Linked DNA regions of Homo sapiens: all the other regions are linked to region 1. The links are contacts of gene promoters, found by promoter capture Hi-C in blood cells and fetal thymus (Javierre and others, 2016). All regions are on one chromosome and are shown on one strand. The core of a region is centred on a gene start or on the middle of the fragment in contact, and the rest is flanking DNA. Distances in the headings are between cores, read along the strand shown. Region 1 holds the start of LINC01562 (long intergenic non-protein coding RNA 1562). Region 2 overlaps FAF1 (Fas associated factor 1). Region 3 overlaps FAF1 (Fas associated factor 1). Region 4 overlaps FAF1 (Fas associated factor 1).

Evidence for each region. The method cuts DNA at HindIII sites, captures the fragments that hold promoters and counts their contacts. A CHiCAGO score of 5 or more calls a contact.
Region 2: a fragment that was not itself captured here is called in contact with the fragment with the promoter of LINC01562 in region 1 in 3 of 17 cell types (M1 macrophages, naive CD4 T cells and M2 macrophages); the score reaches 5.6 in M1 macrophages.
Region 3: a fragment that was not itself captured here is called in contact with the fragment with the promoter of LINC01562 in region 1 in 2 of 17 cell types (naive CD8 T cells and naive CD4 T cells); the score reaches 6.0 in naive CD8 T cells.
Region 4: a fragment that was not itself captured here is called in contact with the fragment with the promoter of LINC01562 in region 1 in 5 of 17 cell types (naive CD8 T cells, naive CD4 T cells, total CD8 T cells and 2 more); the score reaches 8.8 in naive CD8 T cells.

What each region holds. Positions count from the first base shown.
Region 1 is chr1:51,233,653-51,236,352 of GRCh38, reverse strand. LINC01562 (long intergenic non-protein coding RNA 1562) reads left to right here and starts at 1,257. Exons shown (of 2, transcript NR_147076.1): 1 at 1,257-1,388. RNF11 (ring finger protein 11) reads right to left here and starts at 80. Exons shown (of 3, transcript NM_014372.5): 1 at 1-80. RefSeq lists a silencer at 1-295. The HindIII fragment of the contact is 11,293 bases long and covers 408-2,700 here.
Region 2 is chr1:50,911,597-50,914,296 of GRCh38, reverse strand. The region is part of intron 1 of FAF1 (Fas associated factor 1); the gene reads left to right. Among named protein-coding and RNA genes, the nearest start is that of FAF1, 47 kb to the left of the region's middle. The HindIII fragment of the contact is 831 bases long and covers 918-1,748 here.
Region 3 is chr1:50,947,952-50,950,651 of GRCh38, reverse strand. All of the region lies in intron 1 of FAF1 (Fas associated factor 1), which reads left to right. Among named protein-coding and RNA genes, the nearest start is that of FAF1, 11 kb to the left of the region's middle. The HindIII fragment of the contact is 4,104 bases long and covers 1-2,700 here.
Region 4 is chr1:50,930,016-50,932,715 of GRCh38, reverse strand. All of the region lies in intron 1 of FAF1 (Fas associated factor 1), which reads left to right. Among named protein-coding and RNA genes, the nearest start is that of FAF1, 29 kb to the left of the region's middle. The HindIII fragment of the contact is 7,482 bases long and covers 1-2,700 here.

The sequences.
Region 1 (2,700 bases), core at 8-2,507:
GCCGGAGCCACGGCCGCGGGCCTCATCCTACTCCGCCTCAGCGAGACGGCGGCAGCCAGAACGAGGCCGGCTCGGGCACTGCGTCATCGCGCCGTGCGTGCTCTGGTCCCGCCCCCGGCGCCAGGAGGCGAGGGCGGCTCCGGCGGCGCCCATCCCCCTCTCCACTAGCAGCTGTTCTCGGTGCTGCGTCAATTTTTGCTTCTCTCTGACTGCTTGGCTCCGTACCTGGCTCCGAAACCAATCTCCCGTCTCCCGCGCCTCCCCACATTCATTGCTCCTGCCCCGTCTAGGGCTCAGTTCTTACCTGTGCACTGCCTGACAGTCTTCTCACCACCCTCCGCCAAGCGGTCTATTTATATAAACCCATATCGGAATGGATCAGTCCCATGATTAAAATGTTAAAAGCTTCCCCTTTATCCCTTCACAATAAAGTCCTAGCTCGTTACTGAACCATCCCTGCCTGTCCAATCACGTCCTTATCCTTCCACATCACAGCCAGAGAGATTATTCTTCCAGTTGTATATCAGATTGTTCATTTCTTTCCAGTCCCAGCACCAAAGTCCAAGCCACCATCATCTCTCACCTTGGCTTCTGCAATAGACTCTCAGCTGTTCCTGAGTTCATCATTGCCCACATCCAATTCACTGTTGGCACAGTTGACAGAGTTATCTTTTTAAAATTTAAATCGGATCATGTCATTCTCCTGTTAAAACCTTCAGTGTCTCCTCAAGGCTGTCCTTAAGACAATCCTTAAATGGTTTACAAATCTGACTCCCTTTCAATCTCATTAGCAGCATTGTCACCTCCTTCACAAATTCTAAACTAGACTCTCTAAAATGCTTTTCGTTATCTGGAATACTATTGCCTCTGCCTGGGGCCTTTGTCCATATTGTTTCTCTCACAGAAACCCACTTCCCTCCACTCCCAACCTTTCTGCTTCTCATCAGGCTAATCATTATTCTCAGGAATCCTTCTGGATGCAACTTCATTTCCCCTGGGGAGACTCTCCTGACCCTCCAGTCTGGGTTAGTCGCATCCTGTGTGCTCTCAGACCCTGAGCTTTTCTCTGTCACAGCCTGATCAAGCTGAATCATCTGTCCCTCTGTGCAAGGCTGGCACACTGCCCAAGGTAGAGTATGCTCTCTCCTTGGTTGAATGAGCAGCTCAAACAACATATGCAAAAGAAGGAAGCAAGAAGGATGACAGTGCTCCTGATAGACGTTCATTCAACAGGTGGATCTTGACTGCCTTTCGTTTCATTCACCATTTACTGAAGTTGTGTGTGCGTGTGTATACCAGACCCCACGCTAAGGACTGGGGAAAAGGATGATCATACCTGGCTTGTTCCTGATAGAGCCCAGAGACCACCTGGGAAGACAAGTAATCAGGTGAGTCCTAAGCCCACACCCTGCCACGGACCCCAAGGTTTTTAGAGGAACTGAAAGACAGCAATTAGTTCATTTGAGTGAGGAACAGAAAGGATTCTTAGAGGTAGGGCTATATTAAACTCGAATGGGTCTGAACACTCTTACTCTGCAGTCCCTATTCTACGAAGTCACTATCTTATTTAAATGCACTCAAATTCCACATTAAATATCACCTTTTTGATATAAAATTTTTGAAAAGACTCATAATTTTGGGCCAGGCGTGGTGGCTTACGTCTGTAATCCCAGCAATTTGGGAGGTCAAGGCGGGTGGATCACTTGAGGTCAGGGATTCGAGAGTAGCCTGGCCAACATGGTGAAACCCCATCTCTACTAAAAATACAAAAACTAGCCAGGTGTGCTGGTGCACGCCTGTAGTCCCAGCTACTCGGGAGGGTGAGGCAGGAAAACCGCTTGAACCTGGGAGGTGGAAGTTGCAGCGCAGTGAGCCCAGATTGTGCCACTGCACTCTAGCGTGGGCGAGGGAGTGAGTAAGACTCAGTCTCAAAAAAAAAAGGAAGGAGAAAGAGAGAGAGAGAGAAGGGAGGCAGGAAGGAAGGAAAGAAGGAAGGGAGAGAAAGAGAAAGAGAAAAGAGAAAGAAAAGAAAGAAAGAAAGAAAAGAAAGAAAGAAAGAAAGAAAGAAAAAGAAAAAGAAAGGAAAGAAGGAAAGAAAGAACAAACTGACTCACAATTTTGGTTTTGGAATTGTTGAGCTTCCAAGAACTCATTTAATTTATGATTGGCTAAATTTACCAGAAATCAGAGGTACCCTGGAATTTTTACAAAGTGAGAAAATTTACCCCACAAATTATTGTCAAACCTAAAGAAATTTTTATTAATAATAATTTATACAATTATTTGACATAATATTTACACAGTGCTAGAATTTGTAGACATTGTTTGTTTGTTTTGGAGACAGGGTCTCACTCTGTCACCCAGGCTGGCTTGATCGAGGCTCACTGCAGCTTCAACCTCCTGGGCTCAGGTGATCCTCCTGCTTCAGGCCTCTCCAGTAACTAGAACTACAGATGCACACCACCATGCCTTGCATTTGTTTTTGTTTTTGGTAGAGACGAAGTCTTGCCATGTTGCCCAGGCTGGTCTCAAACTCCTGGGCGCAAGCGATCCTCCCGCCTCAGCCTCCCAAAGTGCTGGAATTACAGGTGTGAGCCACTGTATGCCTGGCCAGACATAGATTTATTTAGTTAGTTTTAATTTTTTTTAATTTTTATTTTTTGAGACAGAGTTTTGCTTGTGTTGCCCAGGCTAGAGTGC
Region 2 (2,700 bases), core at 84-2,583, 320 kb after region 1:
TATCATAAACCAAATTTCCTCTTTGGTGTATTTGATGAATGGAGAAGATCTAACTTTAAAACACTGCTAAAATTAAATCATAGCTGTTAATACCAGGTTCTGATATTTCTGTGAAATGTGGCTGAAAAAATAAGAGTTTGGCTGAGTCATCAGGAATCCATGGTCTCGTCCTTTGCTTTGCAGACTTAAATATTTGATTTTTTTCTGTCATCCATCAGTGTTAATGTTCTGGTAAATAGATTCAGAGTAACAGATATACAGGAGATTGATCTGTTGTGTGGAATATTAATTTACAAAGAGATAGACATTTTTACATTGACCACAGGACTTGTAATCATTATTCAGAGCATCTTCTTCCTGGTAGGATACCTGAAAAACCAATTTGGTCATCAGAACATGGATTGGTGAGCATGGAAACAGAACAAATTACCTGCATTGGTTTGGGGGATGGTTTACTCAGGCCATAGTAAGTCTAGGAAGTTCTTCCTGCTCTATTTCTGCTGTTTGGATATTCATCCATCAGTTCCATCAGTACTATTTTTTAGTATCTTTACGATATCTTTAGTCTTTTGGAAAGTAATAGACAAATTCTTTCCTTCTCATTTTTTCCCCCAATATAATGTGTACAGACTACTTCTGTTAGAAACTCATTAAGACATATATTATTGTCATTATTTTGATTGATAATTATCTGCTGTTGCTGACAGTTTACTCTTGATGAAATTTGAAAACAATTCAAGTCTTTGTAAAACTGTGATACAGATTCTCTTCCTTTTTTGATGTTAACATCTTGAAGAAATCTGCAAGGTCTCTAATGGATAGATTCAGCCCTTTGGTGTTGTGGCTTTAGATTCAGATTCTGGTTCTGCCACCAAGTAGCTGAGTAAGTTGCACATGCCACTTGATCTCTTTAAGCTTGTATTTTCTTATTGGTGTACCTTCTCTTGTACGGATGATGAGGCAATTATGAATTAATGTGTTTAAAATATCTGAGCAGTGCAAAAGAAATGTATTTGTATAAAGTCGATCCATTCATCCTTTTAACAAGTATTAATTGAACAATCTACTGTGTCCCAGGCAGTTTGCTATGTATTGGGTTATAACACTGACCATGATAGTCATAATCCCTGCACTCATGCCATGTATAGTACAGTGGGGAAGAGAGACACACAAACAGGCAATTATAAAACTGTGTAGTAAGTGCTATAATAAGTGACAGAGCATTTTTATAAGTGTTTTTAGAGGTGCTTTAAAAAATGCAGCACCAAAATGTTTAAGGCTTTTTAAGGCTTGAATGCCCCAATTCACTAACTGGCTGGTTCATTTCTGTTAGTTGAGTTGAATGTATGCATAACTTGTTATATGAAGGGAATGTTGTATGAAACATAGTTTATCAGAATTCAGTTTTGGTGTGGCTTCTACACTTCATCTTTTTTTTAAATTTAAGTTTTAACAAAAACTTTTAAAGAAAAGTTATTTAAGAAACTGAGAATGGGTAAGCAATTGATTGATATTTTCAAATACTAAACCGCTGTTTGACAAAATGTGCATGCACCTACACTGTGGCACTGGCATTTATAAGCATTTATAAACATGTGAGTAGATTGCATAGTGTAGAGTCATGTGGCAACTTCTTTTGGGAAACAGTAGAGAGACATGATTTTTCTGAGTACACACTGCCAATTCAAGCATCTGTGTAGGTTGTGATAACCAGAGTAATGATGTTAAAAAGAACAACACACTAAGCTTAGTAAGGTTTAGTATAATTCAATCATCTTTTTAACAACACTAAAACTTCTGCACTGAGTTAAAGTGGTTTTCTAAGAATACCACCACCTAGATGGGGCAGGTGGTGGGCAAGGCTCCTTTTCCACTATACTCGTGCTTCTCAAACTTTAATCAATGTAAGAATCACCCAAGATACTCTGTAAAATGTAGATTCTAGAATCCTACTTCTAGAAAGTCTGATTCAGTAGTCTGAGACAGAGTCTAAAAACCTGTATTTTAAACAAGCATCTCAGGTAAATCTGATGTAGGAAGGATGAGGACAACACCGTAAACACTTTAATACACCATTCCTGTCTCCTGTGCTTTCTGTAATAGTGACTTGTCTAGCGGCAGCTCAAGCCCTTCTCTCTCCATAATTTTGAAGTTGGTGGTATTTTTGAAATGATGTTGTTGTCACCATTGAAGCACTGACAATAATAGTGTGCTTCGTTGTGCGTCAGGTCCTCTAAATACTCTGCCTTTTTTTTTTTTTGAGATAGTGTCTTACCCTGCCACCTAGGCTAGAGTGCAGTGGTGAGATCTCGGCTCACTGTAACCTTGACCTCCCAGGCTCAAGCGTTTCTCCCACCTCAGACTCCTGAGTAGCTGGGACTACAGGGGCATGCCACCATGCCTGATTGATTTTTCTGTATGTTTTTTGTAGACATGGGGTTTCGTCATGTTGCCCAGGCTGGTCTTGAACTCTTGAGCTCAAGTGATCCACCGACCTTGGCCTCCCAAAGTGCTGGGATTACAGGCGTGAGGCACCATGCCTGGCCCAAGTACAAATTTTATGGCTATTTTACCCATTCATGGGAGAAATAGTTTTTTTGGAGACAGAGTCTCACTCTGTTGCCCAGGCTGGAGTGTAGTGGCAACATCTTGGCACACTGCAACCTCTGCCTGCTGGGTTCAAGCCATTCTCATGACTCA
Region 3 (2,700 bases), core at 121-2,620, 290 kb after region 1:
TGATAGAGTTGATGCCTGTTGTTTGCCTGACTGGTTTTATGGACCTTGTAGATCAGGGGTCAGCAAACTATATCTTGCAGGCCAGCTGCCTGTTTTTATAAATAAGGATTTATTGCAACACAGCCATACCCGTTCATTTACCTTTATCTGTGGTGGTTTTCTTGCTAGAGTGACAGAGATGAGTAGTTGAGACAGAGATTTTAATGGCCTTACAAGCCTAAAATATTTACTGTCTGGGCATTTAAGGTAAAGTTATTTCTCCGCTCCCCCCATGAAATCAGTACTTTTCTAGGTTTTAGTAAATTCAGAGGGCTGGAGTGTTTGAATGCCTGCTAGGTGGCAATATGTGGTTACACCTCCATAAGGGGCAGTTGTTAGAACATTGTACTTAGGTAGACTGGCTGTAGCTGTTGTCTTTTTGTTTTGTTTTAGGTTTTCTTAGCTGTGGTTCTTTGAGAAAGTCATTTGCCTTTTGTAGGCTTCATTTATTCAGTCTATAAAATGGTGATCTGGGACAGGTGTGGTGGCTCCCACCTGTATTCCCAGCACTTTGAGAAGAAGAGGCACGGGATCACTTGAGGCCAGGAGTTTGAGATCAGCTTGGGCAACATAACAAGATCGTGTCTCTACAAAAAAAAATAAATTTTTTTTTTTTAAATTAGCTGGGTGTGATAGCATGTGCTTGTAGTCCTAGCTACTCAGGAGGCTGAGGTAAGAGGATATGATTGCACCGCTGCACACCAGCCTGGGTGGGTGACAGAGAGACCCTGTCTCGAAAAAAAAAGAATGGTAATCTGTGTAGAGCTATATGTACCTGTAAGCAGAAGACTGGACTAGGTCAGGCCAAATAGAATCCAGAGAATCACTTGGCAGCCGTGGGACTGAGGACAATCAATTGTAATTCAGATAACTGACCTAGATTAGGGGTCAGAATATTACAGCCTGAGGGCCAAACCACCACCTTTTTTTGTAAATAAAGTCTTACTGGAATATAGTCGTGCACGTATGTTTACATGTTGTCTCTGGTTATTTTTGTCCTTAATAGCAGAGTTGAGTAGTTGACTGCATGTCCTGCAAAGCCTAAAATATTTACCCTGCTCCTTTTAGGAGAGTTTGCTGATCCTTGATCTAGATCAGTGGTTTTCAACCAAGGGTGATTTCTGTCCCCCAGGGGACATTGGGCAATGTCTGGAAACACTTTGGTTGTCACAGCTTCGGGCTGCTACTAGCATTTAGTGCACAGAAGCAAACGATGCTGCTACACATTCTATAATGCACAGGCATCGCCCGATAGTAAAGAATTTTCTGGCTCAAAATGTTGACAGTATTGGAGAATCCTGATTTAAACTAATGGTTCTCAAACTTTAGTTTGCATCAGAATAATTTGGAGGGCTTGTTAAACCACAGGTTGCTGGACCCCCACCTCAGAGTTTCTGACTCAGTGGGTCTGGTGTAGGGTCTGCAAATTTGCATGTTTTACCAGGTTTCCTGGTTATGCTGATGCTTCTGATCCAAGGACTACACTTGAGAATTGCTGAGCTAGATGACTTTTGAAATTCCGTCCATTCCTGTGATTCTTTGATTTTGTGATCTTAAGTACTGTTCCATTTCTGTGACTTAGCAAAACGTTTTATGACATGGTTTGGATGTTTGTCCCTTCCAAATCTTATATTGAAATGTGACCTCCAAAGTTGGAGGTGGGTCCTAGAGGTAGATATTGGATCATGGGGGTGGATCCCTCATAAATGGCTTAGCACCATCCCCTTGGTGATGAGTGAATTCTTGCTCAGTTAGTTCACGTGAGATCTGATTGTTTAAGAGTCTAGGGCCAAGTGTGGTGTCTCACACCTGTAATCTCAGCACTTTGGGAGGCCAAGGCCGGTGGATCACTTGAGGTCAGGAGTTTAAGACCAGCCTGGCCAACATGGTGAAACCCCATCTCTACTAAAAATACAGCTGGGTATGGTGGCGTGCACCTGTAGTCCCAGCTACTTGGGAGGCTGAGGCGTGAGAATCGCTTGAATCTGGGAGGCAGAGGTTGCAGTGAGCTGAAATCGCGTCACTGCACTCCAGCCTGGGCGACAGAGCAAGACTCTGCCTCAAAAAAAAAAAAAAAAGAAAAAGAAAAGAAAAAGAAATAAGAGTCTGAGATCTTCACCATTTTCTCTCTGTCTGGCTCCCTCTCTTGCCATGTGATAGTCTGGGTTGACTGTGAGAGGCTGTCTCCCGCTTTGCCTTACACCATGATTGTAAGCTCCTTGAGGCCCTCACCAGAAGCTAGCGGATGCTGGCACCATGCTTTCTGTATAGCTTGAGAACCATGAGCCAACAAACCTCTTTTCTGTATAAATTACCCAGCCTCAGATTTTTTTTATAGCAACACAAGAATGGACTAACAGAGTATATTTCAGTATACTGATGCTTGATGCTTAGGCTGTTTCATGACTTCACATTTTTGGATCCTTACTTTTCATGTTCCTTTGGAAAGTTTCTATTTCTCTTTCAAAAACCACCTCCTACCTTTTGCTTGTAACATTCATACCTTGTACCCAGTTAGGGTTAATAGTTTCTTTTCTATTTTGTACATCTCTCTTCTTTTGAGTCTTATGTTAGATTGTCAGTGATCAATTTACATGTTTCTTTCTCGTACTGTCAGCTCTGTTGGGGAAACAACTGTCTGGATCTTAACCATCTGTTCCT
Region 4 (2,700 bases), core at 172-2,671, 300 kb after region 1:
GCTAGGTCACTGCCTAGTGGAGCTGTGAGAAGAGGGCCACCATCCTCCAGATCCCAGAATGGCAGATCCACCAACAGCTTCACCCTGTGCCTGGAAAAGCTGCAGACACTCAGTGCCAGCCTGTGAAAGCACCTAGAAGGGAGGCTGTACCCTGCAAAGCCACAGGCGCGGAGCTGCCCAAGACCATGGGAACCCACCTTTTGCATCCGTGTGACCTGAATGTGAGACCTGGAGTCAAAGGAGATCATTTTGGCGCTTTAAAATTTAACTGCCCCGCTGGATTTCACACTTGAATGGGCCCTGTAACCCCTTTGTTTTGGCTAATTTCTCCCATGTAGAATGGCTGTGTTTACCCAATACCTGTACCCTCATTTTATCTGGGAAATAACTAGCTTGCTTTTGATTTTAGAGGCTCATAGGTGGAAGGGACTTGCCTTGTCTCAGATGAGACTTTGGACTGTGGACTTTTGGGTTAATGCTGAAATGAGTTACGGCTTTGGGGGACTATTGGGAAGGCATGATTGGTTTTGACATGTGAGGACATGAGATTTGGAGGGGCCATGGGTGGAATGATATGGTTGGCTGTGTCCCCATCCAAATCTCAACTTGAATTTTCGTCTCCCAGAATTGCCACATGTTGTGGGAGGGACCCGGGGGGAGGTAATTGAATCATGGGAGTCAGTCTTTCATGTGCTATTATTATTATTATTATTCCCAGAATTGCCACATGTTGTGGGAGGGACCTGGGGGGAGGTAATTGAATCATGGGAGTCAGTCTTTCATGTGCTATTATTATTATTATTATTATTATTATTATTATTATTATTTATTTATTTATTTTTGAGACAGAGTCTTGCTCTGTCACCCAGGCTGGAGTGCAGTGGCACGATCTCGGCTTACTTCAAGCTCTGCCTCCCTGGTTCACGCCATTCTGCTTCAGCCTCCTGAGTAGCTGGGACTACAGGCGCCTGCCTCTATGCCTGGCTAATTTTTTTGTTGTTGTTGTATTTTTAGTAGAGATGGGGTTTCACTGTGTTAGCTAGGATGGTCTCAACCTGCTGATCTCGTGATCCACCCGCCTCAGCCTCCTAAAGTGCTGGGATTACAGGTGTGAGTCACTGCGCCCACCCACGTGCTATTCTTGTGATAGTGAATAAGTCTCTTGAGATCTGATAGGTTTATCAGGGATTTCTGCTTTTGCTTCTTCCTCATTTTTCTCTCACTGCCACCATGTAAGAAGTGCCTTTCACCTCCTGTCATGATTCTGAGGCTTCCCCAGCTATGTGGAACTGTAAGTCCAATTAAACCTCTTTTTGTTTCCAGTTTTGGGTGTGTCTTTATCAGCAGCGTGAAAACAAACTAATACATATGCTCAACCCTAAAGAATGCAGATAAGAAAGTATAACAATAAGAAAGTATAAACAATGCAGATAAGAAACTATAACAATAAGAAAAACAATTGGAACAGATTGAAAACAAAATAAAAGAACCAAGATAGTAAACTGAGAACCAAGATAGTAAACTTACAGTAAACTACTGCCATATCAGTAATTACATTAAATGTAAATAGGGTAAATAGTAATCAAAAGGTAGAGACCATCAGGTTGGATGAAAATTAAATATTGATCTATATTTCGTATAAGAGAAGCATCTGGAATATAAAGATGCTTCTCTAGGTTGTAAATAAAAGGATGGACAAACAATATATCATGTAGACACTAATCATAACAAATCTGCTGTAATTAATTAATAATGTTAGACTAAGACTTCAAGTTAAGGAGTATTACTAAAAATAAAGAAGTTCTGGCACACAGTTTTTCTGCTTTCTAACCCTAGTTAAGTTATATTGCCTTCTTTAGTTTTCTTATTGTAAAATTGGGCTATTTGGTGCTTTACCTACTTTTTTTTCTTTTTTGAGACGGAGTCTTGCTGTCTCCCAGGCTGGAGTGCAGTGGCACGATCTCGGCTCATTGCAAGCTCCACCTCCCGAGTAGCTGGGACTACAGGCACCCGCCACCATGCCTGGCTAATTTTTTGTATTTTTAGTAGAGACGGGGTTTCACTGTGTTAGCCAGGATGGTCTCGATCTCCTGACCTCGTGATCCACCCGCCTTGGCCTCCCAAAGTGCTGGGATTACAGGCTTGAGCCACTGTGCCTGGCCACCTGCATTATTATTAATCCTTACAGCAGCTTTGCAAGATTGTTGTTATTACCATTGTATGAGTGAGAACACTGAGACTCAGAGAGGTTAATAACTAAAGTCACAGGGCTAGTTAAATGGTAAAACTGCATTTGAAGCTAGTTGTGCTTTGAGTCAGAGCTTTTTTTCCACTACACATTGTTTCCTGCCAATATACCTTCCTGAATAGTACTGTACCCTAAACTTTGCTGCTGTATAAACACACCTACTTGGAAGAACTCTCCTGAGGTCACCTGCTTAGCTCATTATGCCCTTTTGGAATCCATTCTTCTTTAAAACAAAAGAACCAAGATGTATTAAAATGTCATTAACAGGCTGTAATTGAGAATTTCCCACTTTGGCATTATGATTTTACTACTTATCAGTACATTTCAAAGATATCCCTCTCTTGAAATGCTTTGTTAACTACACCCCCAGATTACCCTAAATAAATGTTAATTTGCTAACATTTTGGTTAAGCTAAATGAAAAAAATGAGTGGCATAGATCATTGGAGTCTA